2 separate regions of the Homo sapiens genome follow, and region 2 is linked to region 1. Evidence: promoter capture Hi-C in 16 types of primary human blood cells and fetal thymus (Javierre and others, 2016). All regions are on one chromosome and are shown on one strand. The core of a region is centred on a gene start or on the middle of the fragment in contact, and the rest is flanking DNA. Distances in the headings are between cores, read along the strand shown.

What was found. The method cuts DNA at HindIII sites, captures the fragments that hold promoters and counts their contacts. A CHiCAGO score of 5 or more calls a contact.
Region 2: a contact is called between the fragment with the promoter of RNF19B here and the fragment with the promoter of ZBTB8A in region 1, in 2 of 17 cell types (fetal thymus and erythroblasts). The highest score is 10.1, in fetal thymus.

The regions. Positions count from the first base shown.
Region 1 is chr1:32,536,385-32,542,021 of GRCh38, forward strand. It overlaps ZBTB8A (zinc finger and BTB domain containing 8A), which reads left to right and starts at 3,043. Exons shown (of 5, transcript NM_001040441.3): 1 at 3,043-3,188. It overlaps LOC124903952 (a long non-coding RNA gene), which reads right to left. Exons shown (of 2, transcript XR_007065669.1): 2 at 5,192-5,445. RefSeq lists a silencer at 3,406-3,775. The HindIII fragment of the contact is 1,864 bases long and covers 2,457-4,320 here.
Region 2 is chr1:32,961,505-32,966,530 of GRCh38, forward strand. RNF19B (ring finger protein 19B) reads right to left here and starts at 3,305. Exons shown (of 9, transcript NM_001300826.2): 1 at 2,547-3,305. The coding sequence starts at 3,181. RefSeq lists silencers at 2,450-2,659, 3,020-3,589 and an enhancer at 2,900-3,404. The HindIII fragment of the contact is 3,974 bases long and covers 287-4,260 here.

The DNA.
Region 1 (5,637 bases), core at 1,793-4,292:
ATTCTCTCTCTATGCATATCCATGGTTTTAATTCCCATCCCACCTATATGACTTTGATGATGAAATTTCTTTTTTCTTTTCTTTTTTTTTTTTTTTTCAGACGGAGTCTCACTCTGTTGCCCAGGCCGGAGTACAGTGGCATGATCTCAGCTCTCTGCAACCTCCACCTCCTGGGTTCAAGTAGGAATTTTTTTTTAATTTAAAAATTTTAAAAATCCTGCCCTTCTAGTCCTCTCTCTCTCAGTGAACAGAACCACCATCTGTCCAGTTCCAAAAGGCTGGGAGTTGTCTTTGACTCCTCCTTCTCCCTCATTTCTCAGAGTCAAACTATTATCTCTAATATTTAACTCTCCACCTCACTTGATCTCCCCACTTCTATCTACCTCCACTCTAGTTCAAGATTCTACCATCTCTTAGCTGGGCCACTGTGATCCACTCTTCCTTCCCTCTAATTTATCTTCCACAGTCATCTTTTCAAAATGCTTACCTCATCATAGCACACACACCCCATGCAGCTTAAAACACATTAATGGCTCCCAAAGTTCTTAACCTGGCCCGACAAGGCCCTGATGGTCTGACCCCTGCCTCCCTCTCCCATCTTATCTCTTGTCTCTCTCCCTCACGTTGCACTCCAGTCTCATCAGCCTTTCAGGCTATATTCCCATCTACCAAGCACCATTTTGCTCCTTCTATCTGGAATGCTCCTGACCACTCACACGCTTGCCTGTTAATTCCTACTCCAGATTTCCAGTCAAGATAACCTCCTCAAGGAAGTCCTCCTTACACAAACCCTCTCCCTCATGAGACGGGTCCCCACTTCATCAATATTCTCATCACACGACATACCTTTCCTTCAGACTTATCCAATTTTCAAATTATACATTTATTTGATTACCATCTGTCTCCCCCACTAGACTGCAAATCCCATAAAAGCAGGGACTTGGTGAATTTTTTGCTCACCACTGCATTCCAAGAGCCTAGAGCAAAAACTTTACCCTTAGCAGGCACTGTTAAAATTGGAATGGGACCAGGTGCGGTAGCTCATGCCTGTAATCCCAGCACTTTGGGAGGCCAATGAGGCTGGATCACGAAGTCAGGAGTTCAAGACCAGCCTGGCAACCTGGTGAAACCCTGTCCCTACTAAAAATACAAAAATTAGCCAGGCGTGGTGGCGGGCACCTGTAATCCCAGCTACTCTGGAGGCTGAGGCAGAGAATTGCTTGAACCTGGGAGGCGGAGGTTGCAGTGAGCCGAGATTGCATCATTGCACTCCAGCCTGGGTGACAGAGCAAGACTCCGTCTCCAAAAAAAAAAAAAAAAAAAAAAAAAAAAAGGAATGGATTATCTTCCTCAAGATTTGAACTGAATAGGTGGAAACAGGGATGGGGGTTGGGTGGGGTGGGAGACAGAGTTTAAGAGACTAGCACTGGTTAATGGTGGAGCTCTAGCATACAGAAACGTGCTCCCAAAGCTAGGAGAATGAAGGTGAGGGACAAAACTCTCATTACCTCTTCCTTGCAACAAAGAGGTTATTTTTGTTTGTTGTTTTTGTTTTTGTTTTTGAAATGGAGTCTTGCTCCGTCACCCAGGCTGGAGTGCAGTGGCACGATCTTGGCTCACTGCAAACTCCACCTCCTGTGTTCAAGCCATTCTCCTGGTTCAGCTGCCCCAGTAGCTGGGATTACAGGCGCGCACCACCATGCCCAGCTAATTTTTGTATTTTAAGTAGAGATGGGGTTTCACCATGTTGGCCAGGCTGGTCTCAACCTCCTGACCTCGTGATCCGCCCACCTCGGCCTCCCAAAGTGCTGAGATTATAGGTGTGAGCCACCACACCCGGCCTCAACAAAGAGTTTATCACCAACCTGATGTGCTCTCTTGAGGAATATGTTTGTGGAACTCTTTTGCATGTTTTAATTAACTAAGGCTAAAATAAAACCTTTGGCTAAAACCATGTCCAGGTCTTTCTGGGGGAATTCTCAATGGGGGCGCTAGCAGAGTAATCTGAGTACATCCAACACACCAGACACCTAATGGTTTTCAAATATGTTTCTACTTACCTGTTCAGAAGGTGAGGAAATGCAACTAAATAGCAAAGCACCTCTGCAGTGACACAGAAGTGACATTGAGACAATTGTGAATATCTTGTATCCTCAAAATGCATAGCTAATTATTCCTGAAATCAAAGTTACAAACTGTCCAATATGAATGATTTTGAACAGGAGAGGAATCCATTAAAAGCTAAACGCAAGTTTTGATAATTTGAACCTTTTCCCTCCAGTTTTACTATAACACAGTACTTTTCAGTACCTGACCCCAGCATAAGGAACTAGAAAACTAATTTATAGAAGTAATGCTTCTACAGTAACAGTGAAAATCCATTGATTTACTATTTTAGCAAATGTATAACCTGATATCTGTACTCTAAATATTAGAGACGTAAATTTGTCAGAGGAAGCTTGGTGTACGATGAATGCTTGCATTGGAAAAGACGCAACTTGCTATTTTTACTAATTTTATATTTCTCTGGACTTAACTAAGAATTATGTTCTCTTATCTCAGCCTCTCTGGGTTTTCCTATTCAAATGAAATGCTTCTGACCTGTACAGGTTTAGAAAAGGTTATCCTCAACTAAAATAACTGCTTCAGTACAAGGGAAAATTCTGTGGAAATCTTTTGCATTTGACGTTGCTAAACTTAAGTACAATAATGTCACATGTACTTATACAGTAATTGTGGGCACGCCTAAGTCCCTCCCTCTTTCCTAAACCAAATCCCCAGATCCTAGAAATCCAGCCCTTCTGCCCTCCGGAGGCGCCTTTCCCAACGTAAAGTACAATTTTAAATTTCAGCTCCTGACTAAAATCATGATCCGCAGTCAACTGCTAGAGAATCTGGGCACCCCGGTGTCTCTGGAGCGTGCAGCGAGTGTGGGCAAGGGCAGGGGGAGTGGGCGAAGCTGCTGGTTGGTGCCTGAAATCTGTGCGTTGCCCCTTTAATTGTGTCCCCAGCCCTCGGGCGTTTCTGTCCAACGCCCACGTCAGCAAATACCTTTTGTTTCTCTCACGTTGGGGCTACTTGTTTTAGGGCGCAAAGGAACGGCCTCGAAAGGGGGTCCTTCCCCAGCCGAGAACCAGGAATCTTCCCTCGGCCCGCGCGCGCGACCGGCCGGTGCGCCGCGGCCCGCGGTAAGTGGCTGCACGCGGCGCCGGCGGAGGGCGGGCGGGCGTCGGGGCTGCCCGGGACCCGCCGCGAGCCTGGCCGCGGGCTCTGACGGCCCGGGCGGCGGCAGTGCTGGGATGCGGGCCCCGGGCGCGCCTCCCCCAGACGTCCCCGGGCCGGGAGCGCGGCGGGAGGCGCCCGGGAGGGGCTGCGGGACAATGGCCGCGCCGTCGCCGCCCGCGCCCGCCTCGCCGCCCGGCCCGGCCCGGGGAAAGGCGGGAAGGCGCGCGGAGCCTCCTGGAGGCGGCGGCGGGAAGGCGGCGGGGACGGCGCCGGGCGTGTCTGGAGCCGTCGGGCGCCGCGGACTCTGGAGGGGCTCGGGCTGCGCGGAGCAAAGACGGGCGGCCGCCGCGGGGGCGCGCGGGGAGGGCAGGGCAGGGCCGGGGCCGGAGTCTCTGCGGGCGCGGCCAGGGGCGCTGCCGGGGAACCTGGCTCCCAGGGCAGTAGCCCGAGTTTCTCGGTGCAGCCTCCATCCTTGGTTTTATGTCAAGATGCGACATCTGGGCTTAGAACCGAGGGCGAACTCACCGCGCCTAACCAATGTTGAGCTCCCAACTATTTGCTTCTGGACGGAACCTTACATGCTCATCTCTACCCATGCGGACCGCCTCTTTTGTGAGTTAGTCAGCGGCTTGTTCCCTTCCCCTTCAGATGCGCTTATGTATCCCCGATTGTTCCAATGGCCCTACTCCACATCATTCTAAGACGCGTTTGGAAGCGGTAGATTCACACACACCTGGTGGGCTTCTAACCACACACGTCAATATCACCTCTATGCTTGATAAACCTTTATAGTTGCACAACTTTAAATGGAGTGCTTTCACCTATATGAATTATTTCACTTAATTTCACATAAAACAACCACCTAGTCAGGCTGACGGTAATTCCACTTTGCAGATGAGGGAACACGTATGAAGCATGGCGTTTCACCTCTAGGCTAGGGTGACCATAGCCGCCCAGGGCCTCCTGTTCCCGCCCTGCCTTCCCTCCTAAGGCACCTCCAGAGGAGTCTTTAGAAGGGCCAGTCTTAACACAGCGCTTCCCTGCTCTAAAAACCTTAACTGATCTTTTTCAGGAAAGCCTCCAAAATCCTCAACAAGCTTCTGCTCCAGTCTTATCTCCTCCATGCCTCAGGTATGGATGCGTTTGTAGACTGGAGCAAGAGCCCCTCACTGATAAGCAGGGATCAGATGTCTTTATTCCTGGGAACCTCTCTGGCCACACAAGTGGCAACTGGGAAGTGAGAATCTGGCTTAGGGCCCTTGATCAAATGGGTGTCTGGGTGGATTGTGCTCTAAAATGTCAGCAGGAGGCATAATGAGTAGGGACTCCAGGAAGGAGGCCACACCACTAACCCTTATCTCCTAGCCCTGAAATCACCAGCTTCGCTGTTGATAATGATTTGGGGCCATCAAAAACTTTGTAAGATAGAGTAATTTAATTCATCGTATGTCATTTAAATCTAATTTTTAGATAAAACTGTGTAATAGACTTAACTCAGTGACACAATGATATGTTAATCATATTTAAAGATTTGATGTGTTTGATTCCCTTGAATGAAGCTTTTGCCACTTTTCTGCTCAAAATTGGTCAGTGGCTCCCCATCTTACGCAGTTTAAAAGCCAAAAGCTCCATAATAGTCTATGCAGCCTTACAAGCACCTGGTCTCACCATGTCCTACTTCTCTCATGATCTGCTTTCCCTTTCTGACTCCATATCCCATTGCTTCCCCCATGCCTCCTTGCCTGCTCACCTCAGGGCCTTTGCACTTGCCGTTCCCTTTGCCTGAAATGCTCTTCCCCCAGACACCCACATGACTCTCTTACTTCCTTTGGACTTTACCCAAATGCCATCTTCTCAATGAGGCTTTCCTCAACTATAGTTTTGATTCTCTTAAGTGTTTTTATTAATTCTAAATCTTTTCTGTCTCAGGCCATTTGTGCAGCTATAAAAATACTTTGGGACTGGGTAATTATAAAGAACAAATTTATTTCTCACACTTCTGGAGGCTGAGAAGTTTAGGCAGTTTGGTGTCTAGTGAGGGCTGCTCTTTGCTTCCAAGATGGCACCGTGTTGCTGCATCCTCTGGATGGGAGGACTGCTGTGTCCTCACGTGGCAGAAGGAATGGAAGGGCAGAAGAGGCTAAACTCACTCCCTCAGGTGCTTTTATAAGGGCACTAATTCCATCCATGAGGGCAGAGTCTTCGTGGCCCAATCACCTCCTAAAGATGATACCGTTGCAATCGGGATGAAGTTTCAACATGAATTTTGGAGGGGACACAAATGTTCAAACCATAGCTCTTAAATGTTTTTAATACAGACGATCACTGACTTACAATGGCTTGACTTACGATTTTTTGACTTTACAGTGCGTTTAATGGGGTATTAAATGCATTTTAAACTTACAATGTTTT
Region 2 (5,026 bases), core at 2,055-4,554, 430 kb after region 1:
TATATCAAACCTAAACCTATCTCACAAGGTTGTATCGAATTAAATTATATATACCTGGCACACAGGTATTGAGAGGCCAGCTTTCTTCTTTCCCCAAACTCCACCTTAAGTCCGTAGATGACACATATAAAAAAATACATTGTTTATATATATAACTATATATATGATTATCATTCTTCTAACTAATTAAAAAAATAAAATCTGGAGGATACTAACATAATACTTGGCTAAAATAAGAAATGGCCTAATTTTTTAATAACTTCCAAATAGTTGAGAGTTGTCACCAAGCTTGAAAATTATTTTCTGTGCATTTTTATTGATGTGAGCAAAGACAGAAACTGACTTTAGAAAAATAAAAAAACAAACAGGGACCTTTTCCAGAAAGATGATCTGCCACATTTCTTAGAACTCAAGGAAACATCTCAGAAAGGAGTTAATGTACTATTCCAAAATTAACTATGCAGTGTTTTGTTTTTTTTTTTTCTTGAGACAGAATCTCGCTCTGTCACCCAGGCTGGAGTATAGTGGCCTGATCTCGGCTCACTGCACCTCTGCCTCACAGGTTCAAGCGATTCTGCCTCAGCCTCCTGGGTAGCTGGGACTACAGGTGTGCACCACCATGCCCGGCTAATTTTTCTATTTTTAGCAGAGACAGGATACCACTATGTTGGCCAGGCTGGTCTTGAGCTCCCGACCTCAGGTGATCCACCCACCTTGGTCTCCCAGAATGCTAGGACTATAGGCGTGAGCCACCGAGCCTGGCCTGTGTTCTCTTAATATTCGTTTGGTTAAGAAAACAGATCAACAGTATCTGTAAAACTTTAATATAAATTAACCTCAGAGGGCCAGTAAGATCACTAGACATAGACAGTTCCATGAACCTAAAAGGTCCTTCCTGATACTTATTAACTGAAAGTGAAAGTGAGCCACCATAAACACCATTCCTTTGACCACAACACTTCAAAGTAATTTAGAAACCCCATCTCAGTGAGGTTAAATAGCACACCCATTTCTAAACAAGTTTGGCAGAATTAAAAACAGAAGTTAACTCTTCTTACTCTCCTAGACACTCTAAGACAGCTCCTTTTGAAAGGAGACAACCAGCAGCATCATGGAGATTTCAAAACCACCTTGATATATAGGCTACAATTAAAAGTCCTTAACTCCTTTGAAGCTAAAGATCACACAACTTTTTACTAGCATTACGTTTACACACTGCAAGGACTCCCCAGCATCTTTTTGTCGCCAAAACATGACACACAAGAATAAAATTATCTGCCCAAGGTCACAGAACAGGTAATGGCTGTCTGACTCCCAACTACTTAAATGAGCCCCTCTTCCTGCGTGCAACCCCTTCATGGGATATACTGACAGTAACAATTAGACTTCTAAAGGCGGGGAGGGCGAGGAAGGTCTCCACTGAATGCTTCAGATAGCAAAATCTGGTGTATTATGTCTCTGCAGATATTGCATATTTTAATTTACTGCCCTTTAAAATTCAGCCTACATGGTGCATTAAAAAGACTGTCATCAAGAACTCAAGATCAAAGGGGTTCAGAAACACAATTTCTCCTATCACACCAACCTCTGGGCATTCTTCTCAGTGCCCCCATTGAGACTCTGGACAAAGAACATATCTGTCTACCCCTCACCCTACCCAAGGCAGCAAGGTAAGAACGACAGAGTGCCTCCCGATAGCGTGGCACAGAACACATAGTGCTCAGGGTACCCGAGAGCCTATTCCCCAGTCACCTCCATCCCAACTTTCAGCGGTGGTTGTCAGGGAGAACACGCCTTCTTCTGCAATGCTAAGTCTGTCCCTAGCCAAGTGGACACACCCCTCCGACGCGCTGCCCCCTCAGAATATTCTCATTCCCTCCTTGGCCAAATATCCCCTCCCCACTCTCATTAAGAGATACTCCCCACCTTGGCCGGGAGCGGTGGCTCACGCCTGTAATCCCAGCACTTTGGGAGGCCGAGGCAGGAGGATCACCTGAGGTCAGGAGTTCGAGACCAGCCTAGCCAACATGGTGAAACCCCATCTCTACTAAAAATACAAAGAAATTAGCCGGGTGTGGTGGCGGGCGCCTGTAATCCCAGCTACTCGGGAGGCTGAGGCAGGAGAATCGCTTGAACCTGAGAGGCGGAGGTTGCAGTGAGCCGAGATCGCGCCATTGCACTCCAGCCTGGGCGGCAGGGCGAGACTCCGTCTCCAAAAAAAAAAAGAAAAAAAAAAAAAGATACTGTCCTCACCTCCGGACAGAGGGCATTCCCCCAACAAAAAAACCGCCTCTCCCTGTCTCCTAACTTGGACAGCTCCCTTCCCCTCACCGAATGCTTAGCAGCCACCTCGAGCCCTGGGGCAGGGGGCGGGGTGTCGGGTGCGTTCACACCACTAGTCTGGGCTTGCCTGATGGTTACCACCCCGCCGAAGCTGCCGCCTTGCGGGTTTCCCTGCTTGGGACACCCACGCGGGGTCCCTGCTGCCCCCAGCCACGCCCCTCGGCTGCAGCCCGCCGCCACCCGCGCCACGCCCCCGCGCTCACCCGCAGTCCGGGGCCGGGCACCAGCGGCAGTCGGGGTCCGAGGCTAGGTAGCGGCGCAGCATGAACTCCTCGTACTTGTGCATAAGCGGCGGGTCGGCGAGCAGCAAGCGGATGTCGTGCGGGTTGAGTCGCTCGCTGCACTCGGGGCAGCTGATGGGCACCCTGCTCTCGCTTATCTCCAGGCGCAGGTAGTGGCGGAGGCAGTCCCGGCACGAGCGGTGCGGACAGCTGAGGAGGCGCGGGGCCCGCTCAGGCGGCAGCCGCACCAGGCACAGCGGACACTCCACCTCCTCCGCGCCCGGGCCACCGCCCTCCGCCGCCTCCTCATCGTCGAACCCAGGCTCCGCCGCCGCCGCCGCGGCCTCCGCCTCGGCCTCGGCGGCCGGCTCGGCGGGCAGCGCCTCGGGCGGCGGGCCCTGGGCCGCGGCAGGGGCCGGGGCGGGCGGCGGCTGCGCAGCCGGGGGCGGCGGCTCGGCCTGCGGCTTGGCCCGGGCGCGGCGGCCGCGGGCCGAGGCAGAGAAGACGCTGTGCAAGGTGAGGCGCCGGCGCCGGCCGCCGCTGCGGCACTTAGGGTCGGGTGCGGCCGCATGTAGCGATGTGGAGCGCGGCGACTCGGAGTCCTTCTCGGAGCCCATGGCCGGCAGAGGCCGAGGAGCCAGGGGCGCCCAGCGCCGCCACAGCTCCCGCCTCAGCGCCCCTCAGCCAGCGCCCGGCCGCCGCCGACGCCGCCACCACCGCCTCAACCGCCCTCCCGGCGATAGAAGCCGAGCGGCAACGACGAAGTGATTATAAAGCCTCCGCCCCGCGCGCCGCTGCCCTGCGCAGGCGCTTCGCTCAAACACCTCACAACCCTTGCGCCCCGGTCTAGGAGTGCGCTGGGCAGGGCCGAGCGGGGTGGGGCCGAGCGAGCTGGGGCGGAGCTCCGCCTCCTGCCGGTCAGGTGGTTCCAGGGCCGCCATGTTGCGGAGACTCTCAGAGATCCTAGCCCGCTGCTCTCCCTGGTCTCCGCCTCCAATTCCATCACCATGACACCCAAGGTGGACTTTTTGGTTTGCCGTTCCTCACAGGTTGATTGCCACTTCCAGTAAATGATGGTTCAGTTACATTATTTATAAAAAGCAGGCAGGGGTTGATCAGATGGTGACTCCCAACTGGTTCACCTTCCAACATTTCTGTTTATTAAGCAGACGGCATAAATTAATAAAGAATATATTCATTCACTGAGCTTCTACAAAGTGCGAGGCATTAGAAAATAAAACAGACAAGGTCCCCTATTGCAAGGGACTTCCAGAATAAAGTCCAAATTTCTTAGTCTAGCATTCAGTGTTCTCTATGTATTTAATAAACCCTATGTATATAATAGTCTATTTCTAGGCTCACTTACCATTCTATCCTCCTGGTATCTTGCTTACTTACCAAACTTGTGGAAGGAGACCCAGCGTTTTCTTGCCTGGCAGTGCCTTTGCCTTTCTTTTTCTAGTTCCCCATTCCTCTGACTGGGGGAGGATCTGGACCCTTAGGCTTCCTAGTGGGAGGCAGGCAAACAGCTTCAACAACAGGAATGTATCAGGATTACATTCAATTGCAAATAACAAAAGAAAAAAATAGCTTACGATTGAAATTTATTTATTTTTTTTCCTGAGACGGTTTTGCTCTGTCACCCAGGTTGGAGTGCAGTGGCGTGATCACAGCTCACTGAAGCCTCAACCTCCCAAGCTTAAGCGATCCTCCCACCCCAACCTCTGGAGTAGCTGGGAGCACAGGTGCGCCACCAGGCCTGCCTATTATTTTTATTTTTTTCATGGAGATGAAATCTCCCTGTGTTGCTCAGGCTGGTCTCGAGCTCCTGGGCTCAAGCGATCCTCCTGCCTTGGCCTCTCAAAGTGCTGGGATTACAGGCATGAGCCGCTGCACCTAGCCAGAAATTTCTCTCTTTCCATGAAATATAAGTCCAAAAGTAGGCAGTTCAGGGCTGTTCAGCCATCCTCAGTATTTGGCTTCCAGTGTTAAGGTCACCTCACTATGGTCCATATTCCAAACAGTGGGAAGGAAAAAGGGAAGAAAGATGCATCCTCTTCCTTTTAAGAAGACTGCCTTGGGGCTGGGCGCGGAGGCTCACGCCTGTAATCCCAGCACTTTGGGAGGCCCAGGCTGGCGGATCACGAGGTCAGGAGATGGAGACCATCCTGGCTAACACAGTGAAATCCCGTCTCTACTAAAAATATAAAAAATTAGCCGGGCGTGGTGGCGGGCGCCTGTAATCCCAGCAACTCGAGAGGCTGAGGCAGGAGAATGGCGTGAACCCAGGAGGCGGAGGTTGCAGTGAGCCGAGATCGCGCCGCTGCACTCCATCCTGGGCGACAGAGCGAGACTCTGTCTCAAAAAAAAAAAAAAAAGAAAAAGAAAAAGAAAGAAAGAAAAAAGGACTGCCTCGAAAGTCCCGCACATTTTTGCCAAAACATACTCACTCACATGGCCAT